3 separate regions of the Homo sapiens genome follow, and regions 1 and 3 are each linked to region 2. The links are contacts of gene promoters, found by promoter capture Hi-C in blood cells and fetal thymus (Javierre and others, 2016). All regions are on one chromosome and are shown on one strand. The core of a region is centred on a gene start or on the middle of the fragment in contact, and the rest is flanking DNA. Distances in the headings are between cores, read along the strand shown.

Region 1 (2,700 bases), core at 107-2,606, 360 kb before region 2:
CTGGTTAACCCATACCCAGGAGGCCTGCTGGGGGCTTACCTGGTGGGTGTCAGGACGAGGCAGAAGATGCCATAGGGATCCTCAGACAGCTTCTGCAAGATGGGAAGGACAAACGCTGCTGTCTTCCCACTGCCTGTCTTAGCACAGCCCAAGCAGTCTCGACCTGGGTTGGGGACAAAGCAGCATCAACACCCTCCATGTGTGGACAGCTGGGTTTCAGAGACCTTGCCCAGGACACACTGCCAGTGAGTGGCAGGCTGGACTGGAACCCATATCCATTTGACCCGAGATGCCCACAGCTTCCTACCACCTCGTTCTAACTCCGTCCAGGAGCACGTGAATTTGGGGAATCCAGAATTCCCTTCCCTCATATGCATCTTGTGCTCCCTGTTGACCCCTTCATTTGTTTATTTAATCCCTGACTTATCACATCTTAGGCTTCCTGTGGGCCTCTCTTTAATGGCGAAACTGGGTTGGGCTAGAGGAGCAGAGAGAAGACCTTCTCCTAGAGGAGCAATCACAGGACCAAGGAGTCCTGGATCTACCAGCAATTTTGACAGCCTCAACTTCTATTTGTAAAATAAAGATAGCAGTACCAGGTCTGCAGGATTTTGCGATACTATCGGACTAGTCATCCATCAAACCCTCCCTGTGCTGAGACTATGAAAATTTCAGAGATTACATCACTTGCGTACGAACACAAAGCGAGTCAGTCATGCAACCTAAATGCCAACACTGTCCAGTCGTCCTCCGGAACCCCGGATCTCCTGTAACGCCCGAGGTTGCCCCTCGCCTCGTGGGACCGGAATAAGCAAAGGTTGCGAGAAGGGAAAGGAGTCGAGAGGAGCGGAGAGGCCTCTTGGGGAAGGCCCTGGGCCATACTCACCCTCCAGGATGGCGGGGATGCAGCCGAGCTGCACGGGCGTGGGCTGCTTCAAACCCAGCTGCCGACATTGTTCCACGAGCCACGATGACAGCCCGAGCTCCGCGAAGCCTGCCATCCTTGTGGCCGCTTGTAGGGGCCCCTTGTAGGGGCCCGTGTGATCCGCGCTTCCGGCGCGCGCCGACGACGTCACGAGAAAAATCTTCCTGTTTATTGGATCTGCCTCCTGCGTGGTCCCACCCTCTCCAGCTCCCTCAGCCTATTCCCAGCCTCGACCGCATCCTTATCATGTTTCCCCGGATCCCATTGGCTTGCAGAAACACACTACAATTCCCGAGATGCTCTCCGTGACGCACTTACGCCTTCCGCCCCCTTGCATATTATTGTGGAGCTTCCCATTGGCTTACTTCGCCGCCGCTCGGAAAAAGTAAACTACATTTCCTAGCGTGCCCGTGTCTTGCTTCCGGCTGACGTGTCTTTCAGGAAGAGGAGCTGGTGAGAAGACAGCGAAATGGCGCCTCCGGCCCCCGGCCCGGCCTCCGGCGGCTCCGGGGAGGTAGACGAGCTGTTCGACGTAAAGAACGCCTTCTACATCGGCAGCTACCAGCAGTGCATAAACGAGGCGCAGCGGGTGAAGGTGCGGCCGCGCAGGGGCGCGGGGACGCTGGGGGCGGAGGCGGAGGACGCTTTCTGGTGGCCGCGAGCCGCGTTCTGCGTCTAAAAACTTTCTCTTTTCTTCTCGCGTTTTTTGGGCCACCTCTTCCACAGTTCAGTGAGGAGTAGTCACTGTCCCGTGACAGAACCCAGAGCAGTAACAGTTTACGGTACTGCTCACTCGTACAGCGTTCTCTCTGCGCCCTTGAAAGTGTTTTGAGTAAGGGAGGTGTTTATGCCACTGTAGTGACAATAAGCCTATTTTGTTCAGCCATACCTTCAGTTCCCGTGAGATGGAGACTGTTGCTTATCCTCATTTTACGGATGAGAACCCTAAAGTTCAGAGAAGGACGTTTCCCTGCCCAACCAGCCTGGTTATTTCTCCCAGAGCTTACCCATTCATTCATTCATTCTTCATTGAGCACTTTTTTGGACGGGCACTGTATTCCGCTGGACTCAGAATGATAAACACAGTTTCCCAGCGCAGTGGCTCAAACGCCTGTAATTCTGGCGCTTTGGGAGGCCGAGGCGGGCAGATCGCATGCGCCCAGGAGTTCGAGACCAGCTTGGGCAACGTGGAGAAACCATGAGTCTACCAAAAATTAGCCGGGCGTGGTGGCGGGCACTTGTAATCTCAGCTACCGGGAGGCTGAGACAGGAGAATCGCTTCAACCCGGAGGCCGAGGTTGCAGTGAACCGAGATCGCGCCACTGCACTCCAGCCTGGGTGACAAAGTTGTAAGAATTAAAGAGGAAAGAAACACGAAAGGTGGCTTGCCAGTCAAGACAGGTTTATTTTAGAGAAAACAAACCTGAGAGGCGCCTTCTGGCGGAGTTGGGTCAGAGTAACACTCTTTTACAGACTAAGAGTTTTTAAGGATTCAGGGTCGGAGAGTTTATCAGAGGCTTGAACTGCTTCTGTGTCTCTTCGTTGTGCTTATCTGGGAGGGAGAGTTGTGTGTCTGTTCCCATACATCTTTCTTTTTTCTTTTCTTTTCTTTTCTTTTTTTTTTTTTTTTGAGATGGAGACTCGCGCTGTTGCCAGGCTGGAGTGCAGTGGCGTGATCTCGGCTCACTGCAACCTCCGCCCCCAGGTTCAAGCAATTCTCCTTTCTCAGCCTCTCGAGTAGCTGGGATTACAGGCGCGCGCCACCATGGCCCGGC
Region 2 (2,794 bases), core at 1-2,500:
GCTACTCAGGAGGCTGAGGCAGGAGAATCGCTTGAACCCGGGAGGCAGAGGTTGCAATGAGCCAAAATCAAGCCACTGCATTCTAGTGTGGGCTACAGAGGGAGACTTCATCTCAACTGAAAAAAAAAAAAAAAAAAAAAAAAAGACACCTGGAGAGGGAGGCCCATAGCTAGTACCAGTGAGACACAGTACTGGGACCTTCTGGGATACACTCCTCCTTCAAAACAGGACTCTTTTCTGTCTCTGGCTCCCAGATGTGAGGGCTGAGGGGTTCCTGGCACCTCCCTCCCGTCCCCCCGCAACTTCCTCTCCCAAGAAGCCTTCCCTGATTACTGCTAGTCTGGCCCACATACACAGTGAAATTGACCCAGCAAGAGCTCTGATCCCAACTCCAAATGTAGATTTATTGAAGAAACGCAGAGAGGTAGGCTGTTTGACCATGGGAGAGCCACTTCACCCTTCTGAATCAGTTTTTTCAACCATAAAATGAAAATAAGGTAGAATGAAGATCTCACAGTGCTGTCTGTGGCAACTGAAACCAAAGGTGATAACGACTGGAGCTCAGGACAGGCTGTTTCTCCAAGAGGAGTGTGAAGAAGTCCCGGGAATCAACATTTTGAGAGCATCCCAGGGGCCTCTAAGAATATATTACGGGCAAACACTTGTAGAGCACTTCATTTCATCCTCAATCACCGTTACGAGGCAGACACAATCATCTCCGAGTGAAACTGAGGCTCACAGGGGCGGGCTCCGTTGCCGAAACTCACAGGGAGAGGCAGAGAAGCACCACGGTTCTATATCCAGGTTATTTAACAGAATTTAACTCAGCCATCCAAGCTCTGAAAAACCCCAAGTGGGGAGGGGCTCAAATATCCCCTCACGCCCCGTCCCCTACAATACAGGGAAACTGAGGCACAAACCGGGCAACGCCCAGCTCCAGGTTACACGACACACCCAGAACACAGGAGGCCCCAATTCCTATGCCCCTGATCCGGATCCAGATCCAGCCCGTAGCGCCGCCTGCGTATCCATTGAGCAGACGGGGAAACTGAGGCCTGTGCGCAGCAGGAATGACCAGATGTGGCCAGTGGCGCACCCCACCCCACCGCAGCCCGGGGGCCGCGCCCGACCCGGACCGGTTCCCCGCGGCCCTGGAGTCCCCAGCCCCACCCCAAACTCGGCCCCGGCGTCGGTAGCGGCGGCACCTGCACATCTGGCGGCCTTGCTCGCGCTTCCGGGATGGCGCCCGCGCCGGCGAAACGTCACCACGCACCGATCCTGCGAGCGCGCGTGGCGGGGACGTACCCTGGAGCCGCTTGCGTGCGTTAAGTCACGACAGGAAAGGGCGGGGCTTAGACGGAGCTTCAGCTCGTGGGTGCATCACAATGAATAGCCAATCAAACAATTCATCTCGCGCCTGCGTATTTCCAGAAGCCCAGGCTTGAAAGCGGCCCGGAAGAAGGAAGGCTGAGAGAAGTGTCCCATTTTGTAGATAGTGTGACTGAGGTCCCAGAGTGGTAACCCTCCCCAAGGTCGTAAATGCTACAGTGGTCAGAGGCCAAACCACACTCAGGTGTCCTGCTTTCCAAGCAGGGAATTAGACTCATCTGTGTTCAGACATCCCTGCTCCACTTTTGCTGATTTTTTTGGTCCAAGTTTCCTTTTTTTTTTTTTTTTTTTTTTTTTGAGACAGAGTTTCGCTCTTGTTGCCCAGGCTGGAGTACAATGGCGTGATCTCGGCTCACCGCAACCTCCGCTTCCCAGGTTCAAGCGATTCATCTGCCTCAGCCTTCCGGAGTAGCTGGAATTACAGGCATGTGCCACCATGCCCGGCAAGTTTTGTGTTTTTAGTAGAGACAGGGTTTCTCCATGTTGGTCAGGCGGGTCCCGATCTCCCGACCTCAGGTGATCTGCCCGCCTCGGCCTCCCAAAGTGCTGGGATTACAGGCATGAGCCACCGCGCCCAGCCCTGGTTTCCATTTACACTTCCACGTTGTTTTGGAGTAATGCGCTGGGGAATTTTTTCAAAAGGGTTTACAGGCTGGGCGCGGTGGCTCACATCCTGTCATTGTAATCCGAGCACTTTGGGAGGCCGAGGCGGGCGGATCACGAGATCAGGAGTTCGAGACCAGCCTGACCAACATGGTGAAACCTTGTCTCTACTAAAAATAAAAAAAATTAGTCGGGAGTGGTGGCGGGAGCCTGTAATCCCAGCTACTCAGGAGGCTGAGGCAGGAGAATCGCTTGAACCCAGGAGGCAGAGGCTGCAGTAAGCCAAGATCGCACCACTGCACTCCAGCTTGGGCGATAGAGCAAGACCACGTCTCAAAAAAAAAAAAGAAGGTCAAGCTAAAAAATGAAGAAAATGTATTTTAAGTTCATGTTAGTTTGTGTATACGAGTACCAAGTTTTTGTAATAAAATGCCTCACAGCTACAATTGGAAAAAAAAAAAAAAACGGGCCTGTGGCCCGAGCCTGTGGTCCCAGTTTCTCAAGAGGCTGAGGTAGGAGTATCGTTTGAGGCCAGGAGGCAGAAGTTGCAGTGAACGAAGACCCCACTCCAGCCTGGGCAACAGAGTGAGACCCAGTCTCAAAAAACAAACAGGCCCGGCGCAGTGGCTCACGCCTGTAACCCCAGCACTTTGGGATGCCAGGCGTGTGGATCACCTGAGGTCGGGAGTTTGAGACCAGACTGGCCAACATGGTGAAACCCCGTCTCTACTAAAAATCCAAAAAAAAAAAAAAAAAATTAGCCTGGCGTGGTGGCAGGTGCTATAATCATAGCTACTCAGGA
Region 3 (2,792 bases), core at 118-2,617, 310 kb before region 2:
GTGGAGACAGCAGATGCCAGCCAGGGCCACTGGAGTCAAGGACTAGCCTTCGTGGGGTGGGTGGCAGAGGAGAGGAGGATGTGCAGGGTCCCACTGTGGAGGCGGTGGAGTTGTCAGGCCCAGGCCGGTACGTGGGTTTTGCCCTCCAGCGGCCTGGAGAGGCAGGGAGGAGGGGAAGAGGAAGGTTTAATTGGAGAGGGGGAAGCAAGGAGGAAGTGCCAGGGTGCCAGGGGGGACATACGTGCCTACGGGGCAGGTTGAAGGAGGGGCAGGGTGAAGGCAAGGAGGGGCAGGGTGAAGGCGAGGAGGAAGCCACAAGGCGAGGCCCGGGCCTGGCCGGGTAAAAGGAGCCAGGGGGTGTGAAACGGCCAGAGAAGAAGCGGGAAAGAGGGCCAGGCGGCCGCGTGGGGCTCCCAGGCTAACCTGCGCCGGTTCTGACCCCCAGGAAGCCACTGAGGAACGGCCTGGTGAAGGACAAGCGCTTCTGAACCCCTCGGCCCCGCCCCCGTGGACCCGGCCCCACCCCGAATACCCCGGCCACGCTCCCCGTCCTTGGCCGCCCCTCCACCCCCTCCAACTCTGCTCCTCTAGGGCCGCCGCCACCTCCCCTGGGACCCCGCCCCCTCATCCTGCCTCCAGTTCCCGGCCACGCCCCCCAGGACCCCTGCCCCTCCGGGGACACCGGCCCCGCCCTCAGCCCACTGGTCCCGGGCCGCCGCGGACCCTGCGCACTCTCTGGTCATCGCCTGGGAGGAAGATGCCACCGCCGCAGCAAGGTCCCTGCGGCCACCACCTCCTCCTCCTCCTGGCCCTGCTGCTGCCCTCGCTGCCCCTGACCCGCGCCCCCGTGCCCCCAGGCCCAGCCGCCGCCCTGCTCCAGGCTCTAGGACTGCGCGATGAGCCCCAGGGTGCCCCCAGGCTCCGGCCGGTTCCCCCGGTCATGTGGCGCCTGTTTCGACGCCGGGACCCCCAGGAGACCAGGTCTGGCTCGCGGCGGACGTCCCCAGGGGTCACCCTGCAACCGTGCCACGTGGAGGAGCTGGGGGTCGCCGGAAACATCGTGCGCCACATCCCGGACCGCGGTGAGTGGGGCTTTCGCTGGGGACACTGGTCCTGGAGGCCAGACCTCGCAGGGCGAGCCTCGAGAGTGGCCCGGGGATGCCCGAGCAGCTCCGAGGGTCCCCACCCGCCCTGTCCAGGCTACTAGCAACTTCGGCCACCGCACCTCACCCTTTCCTCGTCATCTGCTGCACGCCGGGGACACATGTCAGGGGGTTCCCAAGACCAGTCCTTCTGCTTGATGCTGAAGCCCTGTCCCCACCCCATGCCCACCCCCACCTCTTGACACTAATGCCTTCCTGCAGATGCCATCCCCACACCCTAGCATGGCTTCCCCAGGGGCCCAGGTTCTGGCTCATGTCTCCCACTTCGGCCACCCCTCCTCCTATGCCCCCCGCCGAGGGCAGCCCACCCCCCCCGCCGCACCCCGCAGGGCGCCTTCCTTGGAACTCATGCCCTGCCCCCACTCCATCAGCCCACCCCGCCGCTTCACACCCTTCCCACAGACGGTGCGCCCCGAGCCCCAGCGTTCACCTTCCTCCCTGTCCCTAACCGAGACCCCATGGGCAGGCCGGGGACGCAGCGCGAGCCGAGTTCCTGTTCCTACCTCCCCAGGTGCGCCCACCCGGGCCTCGGAGCCTGCCTCGGCCGCGGGGCATTGCCCTGAGTGGACAGTCGTCTTCGACCTGTCGGCTGTGGAACCCGCTGAGCGCCCGAGCCGGGCCCGCCTGGAGCTGCGTTTCGCGGCGGCGGCGGCGGCAGCCCCGGAGGGCGGCTGGGAGCTGAGCGTGGCGCAAGCGGGCCAGGGCGCGGGCGCGGACCCCGGGCCGGTGCTGCTCCGCCAGTTGGTGCCCGCCCTGGGGCCGCCAGTGCGCGCGGAGCTGCTGGGCGCCGCTTGGGCTCGCAACGCCTCATGGCCGCGCAGCCTCCGCCTGGCGCTGGCGCTACGCCCCCGGGCCCCTGCCGCCTGCGCGCGCCTGGCCGAGGCCTCGCTGCTGCTGGTGACCCTCGACCCGCGCCTGTGCCACCCCCTGGCCCGGCCGCGGCGCGACGCCGAACCCGTGTTGGGCGGCGGCCCCGGGGGCGCTTGTCGCGCGCGGCGGCTGTACGTGAGCTTCCGCGAGGTGGGCTGGCACCGCTGGGTCATCGCGCCGCGCGGCTTCCTGGCCAACTACTGCCAGGGTCAGTGCGCGCTGCCCGTCGCGCTGTCGGGGTCCGGGGGGCCGCCGGCGCTCAACCACGCTGTGCTGCGCGCGCTCATGCACGCGGCCGCCCCGGGAGCCGCCGACCTGCCCTGCTGCGTGCCCGCGCGCCTGTCGCCCATCTCCGTGCTCTTCTTTGACAACAGCGACAACGTGGTGCTGCGGCAGTATGAGGACATGGTGGTGGACGAGTGCGGCTGCCGCTAACCCGGGGCGGGCAGGGACGCGGGCCCAACAATAAATGCCGCGTGGTCTGCTCCGCTGGTCTCCTTGGACTCCTTGCCTGGGTGGTGGGGAGGGCGCCCCTCAGTCTTGGTGATCGGATAGGCCTTTCCACCTCCAGGCCACCTGCCAGAGGCCTAACGCGCCACTCCGGGGAGCCGCCCGGACAGGCCCAGGTGCTGCCTACGGGAAGGGCCCAGGGGCAGGGGTCGCCCTTCAGTCCTGCAAGGCAGACCTGTCCCTTCTGGGCTTTGCCTGTCTCCCTCTGGCCTCCTTCACACCCCAACCCGTCACTCAGCCAAGGCAAAA

What was found. The method cuts DNA at HindIII sites, captures the fragments that hold promoters and counts their contacts. A CHiCAGO score of 5 or more calls a contact.
Region 1: a contact is called between the fragment with the promoter of COPE here and the fragment with the promoter of KXD1 in region 2, in 1 of 17 cell types (neutrophils). The highest score is 6.7, in neutrophils.
Region 3: a contact is called between a fragment that was not itself captured here and the fragment with the promoter of KXD1 in region 2, in 1 of 17 cell types (M0 macrophages). The highest score is 5.4, in M0 macrophages.

What each region holds. Positions count from the first base shown.
Region 1 is chr19:18,918,043-18,920,742 of GRCh38, reverse strand. COPE (coat protein complex I subunit epsilon) reads left to right here and starts at 1,356. Exons shown (of 10, transcript NM_007263.4): 1 at 1,356-1,520. The coding sequence starts at 1,395. DDX49 (DEAD-box helicase 49) reads right to left here and starts at 1,028. Exons shown (of 13, transcript NM_019070.5): 1 at 887-1,028; 2 at 40-163. The coding sequence starts at 1,001. RefSeq lists enhancers at 754-1,353, 2,256-2,700 and a silencer at 1,434-1,623. The HindIII fragment of the contact is 20,861 bases long and covers 1-2,700 here.
Region 2 is chr19:18,556,326-18,559,119 of GRCh38, reverse strand. KXD1 (KxDL motif containing 1) reads right to left here and starts at 1,250. Exons shown (of 5, transcript NM_024069.4): 1 at 1,206-1,250. RefSeq lists a silencer at 992-1,151 and enhancers at 642-1,431, 1,432-2,223. The HindIII fragment of the contact is 7,069 bases long and covers 1-2,794 here.
Region 3 is chr19:18,868,273-18,871,064 of GRCh38, reverse strand. CERS1 (ceramide synthase 1) reads left to right here. Exons shown (of 8, transcript NM_021267.5): 7 at 446-1,082; 8 at 1,675-2,520. The coding sequence ends at 488. GDF1 (growth differentiation factor 1) reads left to right here. Exons shown (of 8, transcript NM_001492.6): 7 at 446-1,082; 8 at 1,675-2,520. The coding sequence starts at 758. The coding sequence ends at 2,468. Among named protein-coding and RNA genes, the nearest start is that of CERS1, 26 kb to the left of the region's middle. The HindIII fragment of the contact is 5,071 bases long and covers 1-2,792 here.